Linked DNA regions of Homo sapiens: region 1 is linked to region 2. The links are contacts of gene promoters, found by promoter capture Hi-C in blood cells and fetal thymus (Javierre and others, 2016). All regions are on one chromosome and are shown on one strand. Each heading gives the region's core, a stretch centred on a gene start or on the middle of the fragment in contact. The rest is flanking DNA. Distances are from core to core; before and after follow the strand shown. Region 1 overlaps ENO1 (enolase 1). Region 2 holds the start of SLC45A1 (solute carrier family 45 member 1).

The links. Contacts are between HindIII fragments. The CHiCAGO score rates a contact against its expected background, and 5 or more counts as called.
Region 1: a fragment that was not itself captured here is called in contact with the fragment with the promoter of SLC45A1 in region 2 in 1 of 17 cell types (total B cells); the score reaches 5.0 in total B cells.

The regions. Positions count from the first base shown.
Region 1 is chr1:8,857,191-8,864,036 of GRCh38, forward strand. ENO1 (enolase 1) reads right to left here. Exons shown (of 12, transcript NM_001428.5): 9 at 6,701-6,846; 10 at 6,045-6,153; 11 at 5,697-5,755; 12 at 3,810-4,239. The coding sequence ends at 4,170. Among named protein-coding and RNA genes, the nearest start is that of MIR6728, 6.0 kb to the right of the region's middle. RefSeq lists an enhancer at 5,340-5,634. The HindIII fragment of the contact is 2,516 bases long and covers 3,277-5,792 here.
Region 2 is chr1:8,315,363-8,322,097 of GRCh38, forward strand. SLC45A1 (solute carrier family 45 member 1) reads left to right here and starts at 2,752. Exons shown (of 9, transcript NM_001080397.3): 1 at 2,752-2,824. RefSeq lists a silencer at 2,582-2,861. The HindIII fragment of the contact is 5,366 bases long and covers 457-5,822 here.

The DNA.
Region 1 (6,846 bases), core at 3,285-5,784, 540 kb after region 2:
GTGGACTGTGTTGGTGGCATTCAGAGGCCACCTTCCTGCCTCGGCTGCATTCACTAAAATGAAAATTACCAGGACTTTGTGCTTTTCAGGGAAAGCCTGGCTGCCTCCCACTGTGTCCTTGAAAGCTTGGCGTTCCAGCCCTGCCTGGTTATCACCACCTATGAAATCCATTTACTTGTTACACCAGCGGTTCTCAAGTCTGGCTGCACACTGGAGTCAGCTTTAAAAAATACTGAAGCTTTGGGTTCCACCCTGAGGTTCTGAATTAATTGACCTGGGGTGAGTCCTGATATAGAAGCTTCAGAAGCCTCCCAGGTGATTCTAATGTGGCCAAGTTTCGGAATCATTGCTTTAAACTTTCAACTTACCTTTTTTTTTGAAGACAGAGTCTCGGTTTGCTGCTCAGGCTGCAGTGATCACAGCTCACAACTCCTGGGCTCAAGTGATCTCTCCACCGCAGCCTCCTGAGTAGCTGGGACTACAGGGACCATGTCACCATGCCCAGCTAATTTTTTACTATTTTTTTTTTTCAGCTGGGTGCAGTGGCTCACGCATGTAATCCCAGCACTTTGGGAGACCAAGGAGGGCAGGTCACCTGAGGTCGGGAGTTCAAGACCAGCCTGGCCAACATGGTGAAACCCTGTCTCTACTAAAATTACAAAAATTAGCTGGGAGCGGTGGTACATGCCAGTAATCCCAGCTACTCTGGAGGCTGAGGCACGGGAATCACTTGAATCCAGGAGGTGGAGGTTGCAGTGAGCCAAGATCATGCCACTGCACTCCAGCCTGGATGACAGAGTGAGATGCTGTCTCAGAAAAAACCAAACCAAACCATATATATAGTTTTTTTTCAGCCCAGGCTAACCCCAGACCTATCTTAAATGTTTCACTGAGGATGGCTTTCTCGAAACTTATTCATGTTGCCTGTCCTGCTTCAGACAGGCTCCCCAGGAAAGGACCCAGAGGTCTGCACTTCTGCTGGGCTCACATCTGCCAGTCAATGTCAGGAATGTGCTTTGTTTCTGCTGGGTCAGGAAGTTTAGTCACAGTTGGCTTTCCTTATTTGGGGCCTCTGTGTCTCCAGGGTCAATGTGGTAAACCGCTCAGTCCAGCCTGCAATGGAAATGGCTCCAACCCCAGCCCAGCAGCTTCCTTTCAGGGTGGTGTGGACTGGAAGGGATCCTATCTACCTGTGTTTGCCATCTAACCTCAAGAGTGATAAATGAGGTTCACCTCACAGTCAGGAAATGTTGACATTAAACCAAACTGAAAAATACTCATGCTAACTTGCTGCCTTCGAGTTGAGACAAACAAGATGTAGAACATGCCAGTAACTGTCAGACCCAAGTTCCATGATTTACTTCCCTCCAGGATCAGTTCTCAGACACTGGTCATGAGAACCTGGAAAGGGTTAGTATCTGGGGTTTTATGTGGGATGATTGCATTAAGTTAGGCAGGAGAATGACTTTGTTACTGTCATTATCTGGAGATTAAGTATAGTTTAAGGAAATGCATATGGGTGTAGAGCTGACAAGGGGGGAACCATGATGGCTTTGATATATCAACTTGACGATTCCCCAGTTATTCAATCAAATACTAATCTAGGTATTACTGTGAAGCTATTTTGCAGCGGTAATTAAAGCTACTAATAAGTAGACGTTAAGGAATTATCCTAATTACTCTAGATCTGCCCAACTCCATAAGCGAGGTGTTTTTTTGTTTTTTGAGAGTCTTCCTCCATCACCCAGGCTGGAGTGCAGTGGCGTGATCTCAGCTCACTGCAACCTTCACCTCCTGGGTTCAAGCAATTCTCCTGTCTCAGCCTCCTGAGTAGCTATGACCACAGGCACACGCCACCACTCCCGGCTAATTTTTTGGTATTTTTAGTAGAGACTGGGTTTCGCCATCTGGGCCAGGCTGGTCACAAACTCCTGACCTCAGGTGATCCACCCACCTCAGCTTCCTAAAGTGCTGAGATTACAGGTGCAAGCCACTGCACCCAGCTAGTGAGGTGGTCTTAAAAACCGAGGTTTCAAGACAGAAATTTCACCTGTGAAATGACAGCTTCACCCAAGCCCCTGGAGTTCCAGCCTGCTGCTGGCCATTGTCCCTTCCCACTGGCAGCCCTGTGAATTTCAGACGTGCTTATCCAGGCCCCACAATCAGAGGCCAGTTATTACTTTTGAGAAAGGCTCTCACTGTGTCACCCAGACTGGAGTGCAGTGGTGCGATTTTGGCTTATGGCAGCCTTGACCTCTGGGGCTCAAGCAATCCTCTGGCCTCAGCCTGCTGAGTAGCTGGGACCATAGCTACGCCGACATGCTTGGCTAACTTTACCTCTCCTTATTGGTTCTGCTTCTCAGGTTAAATCCTGACATTAACAATGAACAAGAATGTCCACAAGAGGGCTCCCCAGCTCCCTGACTGTGCATTGGAACGCGCAACTCAAGATACTTCTTTTAGGGAGAAAAATCAAGTAATAGAATATGGGACCTCTTAAGGTGCAGATGGCAACCACAGTTTCTCATCTCTTTATTTTTTTTGAGACGGAGTCTCACTCTTGCCCAGGGTGAAGTGCAGTGGTGTGATCTTGGCTCACTGCAACCTCCACGTCCTGGGTTCAAACGATTCTCATGCCTCAGCCTCCTGAGCAGCTGGGGTTACAGGCGCATGCCACCAAGCCCAGCTAATTTTTTATTTTTTTTCGAGATGGAGTCTTGCGCTGTCACCCAGGCTGGAGTGCAGTGGCGCAATCTTGGCTCACTGCAACCTCCGCCTCCTGGGTTCAAGTGATTCTCCTGCCTCAGCCTCCTGAGTAGCTGGGACTACAGGTGCCTGCCACCACGCCTGGCTAATTTTTGTATTTTTAGTAGAGATGGGGTTTCAACATATTGGCCAGGCTGGTCTCAAACTCCTGACCTTGTAATCCACCAGCCTCAGCCTCCCAAAGTGCTGGGATTAGAGGCATGAGCCACCGCACCCGGCCTCATTTTTGTATTTTTAGTACAGGCGGGGTTTTGCCATATTGGCCAGGCTGGTCTTGAACTTCTGACCTCAGATGATCCGCCTGCCCTGGCCTCCCAAAGTGCTGGGATTATAGGCATGAGCCACTACAACTCGCTTCATCTCTCACTTTTTAATAAACGTATTCTTCACACCCCGTGTTCAGCATTACCCTAGAACAGTACTTGCTGCAACATTCAAGTTTTCCATCTGCTTAATCCAATGCAGTGGGCAGCAGCTACAAATGGCAGCTACCGGACACATGAAACCTGAAGCTTGAGAAACCGAGGAGTGGAATTCATTCATTTAAATCGGGTCCTGAGGTCTTCTTGATGCCCTTCTGCCTTCCTGCCCAGAGCTCCCATTTAATCCTTCTTTCACCTGCTTTCCCCAGGAAGAGACCCTGGGAAGAGAACATCTCTTCCCAGGATGGTCACCTTTACCCTGAAGTCCTTCTGGTCTGAATATGGCTGTGTAACCTAGTAGCTACCATCCTTAAGATTATCTACAAATAGGCCTGCATTTGAAGTTTCTTCCAAACAAGGTGTCCAAACAAAGTCTCGCTCTGCCTTCCAGCTTAGACTCTGTTTTGACCCCACTATCCTGGAGGGACCGTGTATGTCTCTTCTCTTGCCTTTGCCTCTGGTTCCCTTCCCAAGGACCCAGGAAAATGACCCCAATGGATCCTCATCCTTTTCTGTTACGACACCAAACCTTGGTTCTCAAAGGCCGACACCCTTTCGCCAGGGGCCCCTGAACACTAAGGACAGACCCAGATTGTTCCAGACATACACAGGCACACGGAGTATTCTCATGGGTCACTGAGGCTTTTTATTTTGAGCACAAAACCACCGGGGATCTAGCCTGTGGCCACCCCGGAGATGACACGAGGCTCACATGACTCTAGACACTTGGTGGAAAGTGAGGCGAGAAAAACAATGACTTGGGCCAATTACACGACTGCAAAGCTAGAGCTGCCAACAGGGCTCCAGGGAGCTTGGCTTCTGTAGAAGTTCTAAGGAAGCGGTACGAACTCCACGGCGGTGGGGCGCTAACTAGCAGGGACCCCTGCAAGTGTTGGTCGGGGGCCTCGAGCTGCCTGAGCTGACACGAGGGGAGGGGTCTGTGTAGCCAACAGGTGACCGAAGGGCTTGCCTGCCCACAGCTTACTTGGCCAAGGGGTTTCTGAAGTTCCTGCCGGCAAACTTAGCCTTGCTGCCCAGCTCCTCTTCAATTCTTGGGAAGGAGAAAGGTAAAGAGATGGGGAGGAAAAAAGAAAAGTCAGACCTCAAGTTTTAAGTTTTCCCATCCTAGATGTGGTCAAAGACACAGCCCCACTCCTGGGAAGTTGAGAACACAGAACTCTCCAGTTTGTCCACCTTCTTTAAACCCTCTAAACTTGTGCTTCTCTGAGAAGCCAGATATAGAAAAGTATTTAGTTCTCCTCATCCCAACTCACCATGCTAGGTGCCCTCCACCCACCGCCCCTTCTCTTCCTCTCCTCTCCCCGTCAGTGTTGCAGAGGAGCAAAGTAAAATGTCAGCATTGCCATTTCTTGGAATATAAAAATTCTAATGCTTTTGTTTTTTAAAAAATATTGAAGGGACAACAAATAAATGGCATGGGGAGAAAAGGAGAGTGACCTTATTAAAAGACAAAATGTGTGAGCTGTTTGGATCTTGATGTTAAAAAAAAAAAAAAAAAAAAAGGCCAACACATTTTGGGGCCAGGCACAGTGGGAGGATCACCCGAGGTCAGCTTGACCAATATGGTGAAACCCCGTCTCTATTAAAAATACAAAACAATTAGCCAGGCATGGTGGTGGGCACCTGTAATCCCAGCTACTCGGGAGGCTCAGACAGGAGAATTGCTTGAATCTGGGAGGCAGAGGTTGCAGTGAGCCAAGACTGAGCCACTGCACTCCAGCCTGGGCGACAGAGTGAGATCCCTCTCAAAAAAATAAAAATAAAATTCCCCAGCAAAAAAAGAATGGGAGTTTGAGGCTGCAGTGAGCTATGACTGCCCCACTGCACTCCAGCCTGAGTGACATGGCAAGACCCTGTCTCAAACAAACAAAACAACAAAAAAGCCCTGCGTCTACTGTTCACCTGCTTTTTTGTATATGTTTGAAAATTTCCAGGATACAGTTTGAATGAAGGGGTAATATGGGAGAACTTAGCGGGGTGGCGGGCGGGGGGACAAGTCTCCTGGTGTTCAGGGGCTTCCCAAGGACACAGACAGGAAAGGGAGACCAGAACAGCCCCACAGCGCTCACAAGTGGAAACCCAGCCATGTGCCCTTCGGCCTTTTCTTCCTCCCTCCCAGCCCTGGCTCCACATCCACAAACAGGGGTTAAATGCGCTGAAACAGATCATATGAAGGAGCTCTCTGAAAGCTCTAAGAAAGTCATGCATCAGCTGTCAAAGGGGGTCCCATTCTTTCTCACCAGAAGAGGGCAGCACTGTGTGGAACAGGCTCCTGCCTCTGGTGGCGCTGCAGTGGGTGGGTAGGGGGAGTCTAGGCCTAACTCTGTCCTGACCTAAGCCTGCTCAGGGCCTGGCTGTCTGCACTGTGCACCTGCACCTGTACATGTTCCCAGAGCCAGGAGCTCCTGGGGGAGGGCAGTGCCTACACTGAGTGCAGGCCCCCACCTAGTGAACCACAGGCCCCTTGTTCTCAGGAGCCCTCCTTACCTGAGGAGCTGGTTGTACTTGGCCAAGCGCTCAGATCGGCAAGGGGCACCAGTCTTGATCTAGGAGAAAAGAAAGGCCATTTGCTTACAGCGGACAAGCTTTGCAGGCATTTCTGGCAGGGAGAGGGTGTGGTGTCAGAGAGAGAATTTCTAGAGGATCTGATGCTAGGAAAGTGGGGGCCACAACATACAGGCAGGGCGCTCATGCCCCCATTCTGTTCAGCCTCAGAAACAAGAGCACTGACTCAGGGGACATGAGCAAAACGGGGACAGACATGGAGCCTCACTGGTTTTGGGTCTTCCTAGGAAGTTGAGGTCAGAGAAGAAAGGAGGAGACGCTCATTCTTACCTGCCCAGTGCACAGCCCCACAACCAGGTCAGCGATGAAGGTATCTTCAGTCTCCCCCGAACGATGAGACACCATGACGCCCCAACCATTGGCCTGGGCCAGCTTGCACCTGGAAGCCAAGGAACAACCCAGATGGCATGATCCCATTTTCTGGTTCCATAACCCCCAATGCCATTACCCCTCGGTGCCAGCAGGAAAGCAGTGGAGGGGCTGTTAATGGCTAAAGCCCTCCATGCCTGGGCTTTGTCAAGAGCACAGAGGAGAACCCTCACCCTCCCCTGAACTCTTCCACCCCCAGGACCTTCTTAGCCCTCCTGTCATAGTTGAAACACTGGGTTCAGCCTCCCTTGATGGGAGAAAGATTAGTGTTCTCTGACAGAGCTCTTCACAGAATACAACTACTTGCTATGTTGCCCAGGCTGGTCTTGAGCTCCCGAGCTCAAGTGATCCTCCTGCCTTGGCCTCCCAAAATGTTGGGATTACAGGCCCCAATTGTTTAATTTAAAAGGCTCCTGAGTTCAAACACAAAACCTGTTAAAATTCCAGCGAGTCCTACATTCTGGCCAGCAGGATTCCCCATCACCAGAACAAAAGGGCCCTTTTCTGATTCACAAGCCGTAGCTGCGGGAAAGCTGCTCGCCTGGGAAGACACTTACGCCTGAAGAGACTCGGTCACGGAGCCAATCTGGTTGACTTTGAGCAGGAGGCAGTTGCAGGACTTCTCGTTCACGGCCTTGGCGATCCTCTTTGGGTTGGTCACTGTGAGATCATCCCCCACTACCTGGATTCCTGCACTGGCTGT
Region 2 (6,735 bases), core at 1,502-4,001:
ATTTTCAAAATCCCTTTCTTTCTCAACAATGCTTAGATTTCAAACCTCTTCTCTTGTTGCAAAATCCCGTTGTGAACATCAGAACCTCGAGATGATCTTTAAGTTTTCTCAGCATTCCCCATCTTCTCTCCCCTCTGCAAGCAGCTAAAAGTTACAGAAGCAGTTGAAGCCAGCAACTCCCCACCCCCATCTCCTCCTCTCCTGGGGACAGGGGCCCCATCTCTCAGCCCTGTTGTGGGTTGGGTGTGGCCGGTGTGGCTGTGTGGCAGGGTCCTAGCCAATGGGATTCGAGTGGAACGTGGGCCTCCTGCACACCTGGCCCCGTGGGCAGGCACCACCTGGGCTCCTCCCTCAGTGCACCAGGGCAGAGCAAGATGGAGGCAACCGGGATCCCTGAATGGCTTCACAGAGGTCCCCACCCATCAGGCACACTTCTGCCAACCTCATGTGGAAGTAAGCTTCTATTGCATTAAGTCCCTGAGGTGCTGAAGCTCATCAGTTGATGGCAGGCCACTTGCATGCAAAATAGAAAAGGACATCGGTATTTTTTTCAAGCTGTTACCCTGTTATAGAGATAAAAGAAGCCAGAACCAGCCCCCTCCAGTGGCTCCTTCTCTTCAGCCTGGGCAGGATCTGTTGAAATTCCCATGGTGTCCTCTGGGGCCCTCTGCCCTGCGCCTCTCCCTGGCAGTGCGAGGTCCACAGTTCACCTGCAATTAGCTCCCATGTGCAGGGGACTCATAAAGGAGCATCTTTGAGCTCCAGACCCAAGTGTCTGGTGGCCTAGAGGCTGCGAAGGCCCTCAAGCTCAGCATATCCCAAAGCAAACCTATGGCATTCACTCCAGCACACACCTGCTTTGGCCTCCATGAATCCACTCTCTTCCCTCATCGCTCAAGCTAGAAACTTCTTAGCACCACCCTCGCTGTTCCTGTACCCCCCCACCTTCAGTCAATCATGGAGTCCTAAGTCCCCGGCCAGTCCATCACCTCTCTCCCTCTACCAACACCCCCAACTCTCCCACCTGTGCCACCCGGTACGCCCATGTGGTCCCCTGGTTCCCTCCAATCTGTTTTCACTCTGAGCTTTATGATCTTTGCTAACTGTGAATAGGATTCATGCCATCCACTCCCCTACATAAAACCTTTCTAGGCTTCTCTTTGCTCTTAGAAACTGGCAACTGCCTAAGAGGCCACACCTGGGCCTGTCCCACCTCCCCAGCCCTCACCTCCTTCCCAGGCCTCTGCATCCCTGTCCCCCTCCACTTCCTTTGCAGTGTGCCTCCAGGCCCTCTCCCCTCCGGAGCTCTGCCAGTGCAGAGCTCTCTGAGCCCTCTGTGTGGGACATGCTGTTCTCTCTACTTGGCCTGGTAGGGCTCCTTGAGGAGCCCTCGACCCTCCCAATGGGGTGGAATCCGCCGCGGTAAACTTCCACAGGGCCCCGTGCCCCCACTCTGCAGCGCTTCCCTGGGGTTATTATTCCACTACCAGCTGCATAATTATTTCATCCGTAATTATTGGACTCAGCCCAGCTCACTTCTGCCCCTGGCCTTTGCACTTGCTCTTCCCAGTGCCTGGCGTGACCTTCCCCACACGTCAGTCTGGCTGGCCCCCCTAGCTCCTCAGGTCCTTCTTTTCTTTTTGAGATGGAGTCTCACTCTGTGGCCCAGGCTGGAGTGCAGTGGCACGATCTCAGCTCACTGCAACCCCTGCCTCCCAGGTTCAAGCGATTCTCCTGCCTCAGCTGAGTAGCTGAGATTACAGGCACCCAGCACCACGTGTGGCTAATTTTTATATTTTTAGTAGAGATGGGGGTTTTGCCATGTTGGCCAGGCTGGTCTCGAACTCCAGACCTCAGGTGATCTGCCCCTCTCGGCCTCCCAGAGCGCAGGGATTACAGGTGTGAGCCACCGTGCCCGGCCTGCTCCGCAAATCCTCCTTCTAGTGTCACCTTCCAGGTGAGGACTCGCCAACAACCTGATAGAAACCTGCAAGGCCAGCGCCTCTGCAGCCCCACACTCCCTAACCCCTTCTCTAGGGCATTGCCATCTTCTGACATACCATTTATTTTATGTCTTGTTTAATGTGTGTGTGTCTCTCTCTTAAATGTCATGCAGCCGGGTGCGGTGGCTCACACCTGTACTTTGGGAGGCCGAGGCAGAAGGATCACTTGAGCCCAGGAGTCGAGACCAGCCTGGGCAACATAGCAAGGCCCTGCCTCTCTGTATTTTAAAAAATGAAGTAAATAATAAATACATAAAGTATTTATGTATTTACTTACATTACAAAGTTCCCCCAGGGGCGGGAACTTTGCCTTGTTCTTGCGGCATCCCCAGTGCCTTGGACAGCTCCGGGCCCAGAGTCGCGACGCCTCCAGCAGGCCCGGCTGCCCCACTGCGCACATGGGCACAGGCTTGGCACACGCACTGCGGCATTCACGTATCCGCGAACACATGGGTATCTATTTATACATGAAGACACGAAAATGTATTTATTTCTTTTAAAATCAGAAGAAAACGGTGAGAACTGTGAGGCCGGGGGGACGTTTTCCTCCGGGATCCTGGCAGATCCTGCAGACCGCGCCGTCGTGCGCGAAGCACCGGGACGGGCCTCCCGCGGGAAGGGCCCAGGAGGACACCGGGCTCCCCTCCCGCCCGCGGGGCCCCAGACGCGGCGCCGCTTTAAGGCTCCGGGCCCCGCGCGGATGCGGAGGCTGCGGCCGTGACGTCAGCGCCCCGCCCCGGGTGATGCTGCAGCAGCCGGGACCGCGGCCGGGCAGGCAGCAGCCCAGCGGGGACAGGGATGCCTGCCGTCTCCACCCACAGGTACCACCGTCTCCTCCGCGCCCTCCGCCCGCTCTCTGGCTCCGTGCCTGCCGGGGCGCCGCGCCCTGGGCCCCGGGGTAGTCAGGGCGCCGAGACCGGGACCCGAGGCCGGCACGGAGACCTTTGTTCCTCGTGGAAGTCTCATGAATTGCAGAGTCCACGGAGCTCCCCCGTCTCGCCCCTCCGAGGGCAGGAGCCTCGGGCCCAGGGGAGGGTGCCGGCCAGATGGCAGGTGCTCTCATCCTTGCTGGCAAGGGGAGGAGACCCCGGCCTTGGCCCCAGCTCCTGATGCGCTCCTTGAGCCGGAGGCCTGGTCCCTAGTCACCTGGGCAGGTGTCATCCGCTCCCGGCTCACCTCTTGCGTGGGGCTGAGCCCTCTTGTTGACCAGGGGCCTGGCAACGCCCCTCAGCATCCCAGGGTTACTTAGCGAGGGCACCGAGGACTCCCCTTTCCCGAGCGAGTCAGCACCAAGGGGAACGCGCTGAGGTGGAAGCCGTTCAGCTCCTTCTGCCCTCGACAATCAGCAACTTCTCTAATTATTTCTAGAGTGACAGCCGTGCATGTTTTTCAGCTCTTACAGGGAAGCAGAGTCAGGGGCGGAGGAAAGCCACGTTCAGGCTGCACCTGGCCTGGGCTTTTGGGAAAAGTTGGCCCTGGAGTAGGGGTCAAGCTGCCGGAGATGCAAAGTGGGAAACGGCCACGATTCAGTAACTAGCCTATTAAGTGCACCCTCCCAAGTCCGTAGAGCACCTTCCTGGTCCTGGAGGACCTCACTGAAGAATTTTGAGAATGGGTAGAAAGAAGCATGAGGGGTCGGGCGCGGTGGCTCATGCCTGTAATCCCAGCACTTTGGGAGGCTGAGTCGGGTGGATCACCTGAGGTCAGGAGTTCAAGACCAGCCTGGCCAACATGGTGAAACCCCATCTCTACTAAAAATACAAAATTAGCCGGGCGTGGTGGCACATGCCTGTAATCCCAGCTACTTGGGAAGCTGAGGCAGGAGAATCGCTTGAACCCAGGAGGCGGAGGTTGCAGTGAACCCAGATCATGCCACTGCACTCTAGTCTGGGCGATAGAGTGAGACTCCGTCTCAAATAAACAAATAAGCAAATACGCCCTAGGAAGGGAGGTGGCCCAAGGCAACCCCGTGGGGGGAGCTCATTTTCATAACGAGAAGAAAGAAATGAGGAAATGGTTTCCGCTCGTAGTAGGATCATTGTAAGCATTCAAACTACATTGACATTGATTACTTTTATTAATCATTTGCCGCTTAAACTTCCCACAACACAGTTTGAGGAATCTGTTACTTTAAGCATCCTCTGTACTCTGGAAGCACAGTGGACCCCTTGCATAGCCTTCGGGGGATCCAGGGAGATGAGTGGATTTCCTTTTGACCGAGTAAATGGTCATATGGTACAGTAAAGATGGTCTGGCGAATGTTTGTATTTGTGCATGAAAATTAGATTTTATGATCTTAAATTCCACTTTCACCCATTTTTATGGGAACCTTAAAAATGGATTTTTGTTGTTGTTGTTGTTGTTTTTTGAGACAAGAGTCTCACTCTGTTGCCCAGGCTGGAGTGCAGTGGTGCGATCTCAGCTCGCTACAACCTCCACCTCCTGGGTTCAAGCGATTCTCCTGCCTCAGCCTCCGGAGTAGCTGGGATTACAGGCACTCGCCACCATGCCCAGCTAATTTTTTGTATTTTTAGTAGAGACGGGGTTTCTCCATGTTGGCCAGGCTGGTCTCGAACTCCTGAGCTCAGGTGATCCACCCACCTCGGCCTCCCAAAGTGCTGGCATTACAGGCGTCAGCCACTGTGCCCGGTCTCAAAAATGAGTTTCTAAAATTCTTCTTATGATAAACATTTGTGAACAGTTTTTACTAAATGTAGTTTTAATAAAAATGGTAATGCTGATCCCCAGATTTGAAGATGAATCCTTAGTAAAGACTTCTTCTGAGCCAGGATTAAGCTAGGTTTAATTCTGGTTCAGATGCTAGAGAGAAGTTCATTGAGTGTGTGAGGATCTCCCTTCTGCTAGGACAGGCTGCAGTGGGGTGTGGCGGAGGTGGCAGTAGAGTTGTCCTCTTGCAGGTAGAGAAGTGGGCCGTCTACATAGTCCACTTTAAATAAGGTCAAAGAGGCTCCTCTTTTCAAAAAGACACTTCAGGGGCTGGGAATGGTGGCTCATGCCTGTAATTCCAACACTTTGGGAAGCCAAGGCAGGTGGATCACTTGAGCCCAGGAGTTTGAGGCCAGCCTGGGCAACATGGCGAAACCCCATCTCTACAAAAAAATACAAGAATTAGCCTGGTGTGGTGGTGTGCACCTGTAGTTCCAGCTATTTGGGAGGCTGAGGTGAGAGGATCACCTGAGCCCAGGGAGGTTGAGGCTGCACTGAGCGATGATGACTGCACTCCAGCCTGGGCTAGATAGAGGGAGACTCTGTCTGTCTGTCTGTCTGTCTGTCTCTCTCTCTCTCTCTCTGTTTCTCTCTCTCTCTACACACACACACACACACACACACACACACACACACACACACCTGCCATATGCTGTTTAAAGCTGAAGTTTTTCCAAACTGGGCCACAGTTCTTCATTCCAAATTTAAAGGGAAGGTTTCTAATGCACTTAAGTTCACATTATGGTTAAAATGCTGATTAGAAAGAGTGGGAGATATGCCTGTGTGCCTGCAGGTGGGGAGAGGCTGGGCAGAGGGACAGAAAGGGAGATGGCCACTGAGAGCATACGTGGGGCTGTGACCTTTGGGCGGAGTCCGATCCAACCGTCCACCTCACCTGTGCTGGGTCTCGCCTCTGACTCTGAAGGAGATGGTCTTACACAGTGTTGGAACTGGCGCTCTATTTCTGTGCTTTTGATGAATGAAGCTCCAGGGGATGCTAACTGCTGCTTGGGGTTTTGAAAGGAAGACCTGCCAATCACCAGGTTTTACCATGCAGAAGTGCTTGAGCTAGGCCAGTGAGGAACATAAATAAGCTTAGCTTCTTAAACATGTTAATCTTGATTTACTCCTTATAAATGAATTCTATTTCAAATGAAGTATTACTTGTCTACATGGTTCTTAGGTTCATCTGTTCTCTTCCTACAGGAAAGCGTGGTATTTTCCAAAGCCACAGGATAAGTCTTTTATAGAAGTGACAGGAGACTCTGTCTCTGCTATATCACTCCCTGTCACCTTGGAATAAAACCCATCTCTTAGCAAGGCTTCAAGGCCCTCCATGATTAGCTAAGACCTTCCTGAGGGCTTCATCTCTCACCCCACCCCCACTGTGCCCAACTGTTACTCATATCTGTCTTTTACCCAATGATTCTACCCCCCAGGAAGGCCCTTTCCTCCACCTTTTTACCTAACTCAAGGACAAGAACTGTGTCTTTTATCTCTCTTATCTCAGTGTCTTGGTACTCAGTACTCAGATGAATTGGAGGCTGGGTAGGTGAGTGGGTGGATGAGTAAATGTTTGGAAGGGGGGATAGGTAGATGGGTGAGTGGAAGGATGGATAGAGGAGTGGGTGGAAGAACGGGTCGGTGGATGTGTGGATAGTTTTTGGATAGACAGATGAATAGATGAATGGAAGAGAGGATGTGTGGAAGGATGGATGGGTAGATGACTGAGTGGAAAGATGGATGAATGGATGTGTGGGTGAGTGGATGGAAGAGTGGCTGGTGGATGAATGGGTGCATGGATGGGTGGGTGGATGGATGGATGGATGGGTGGGTGGGTGGATGGATACGTGGATGGGTGGGCAAGTGGATGGGTGGATGAGTGGATGGGTGGGTGGATGGATGGATGGATGGATGGATGGATGGATGGATGGATGGGTGAGTGGGTGGGTGGGTGGATGGATGGATGGGTGGGTGGGTGGATTGATAGGTACATGGATGGATG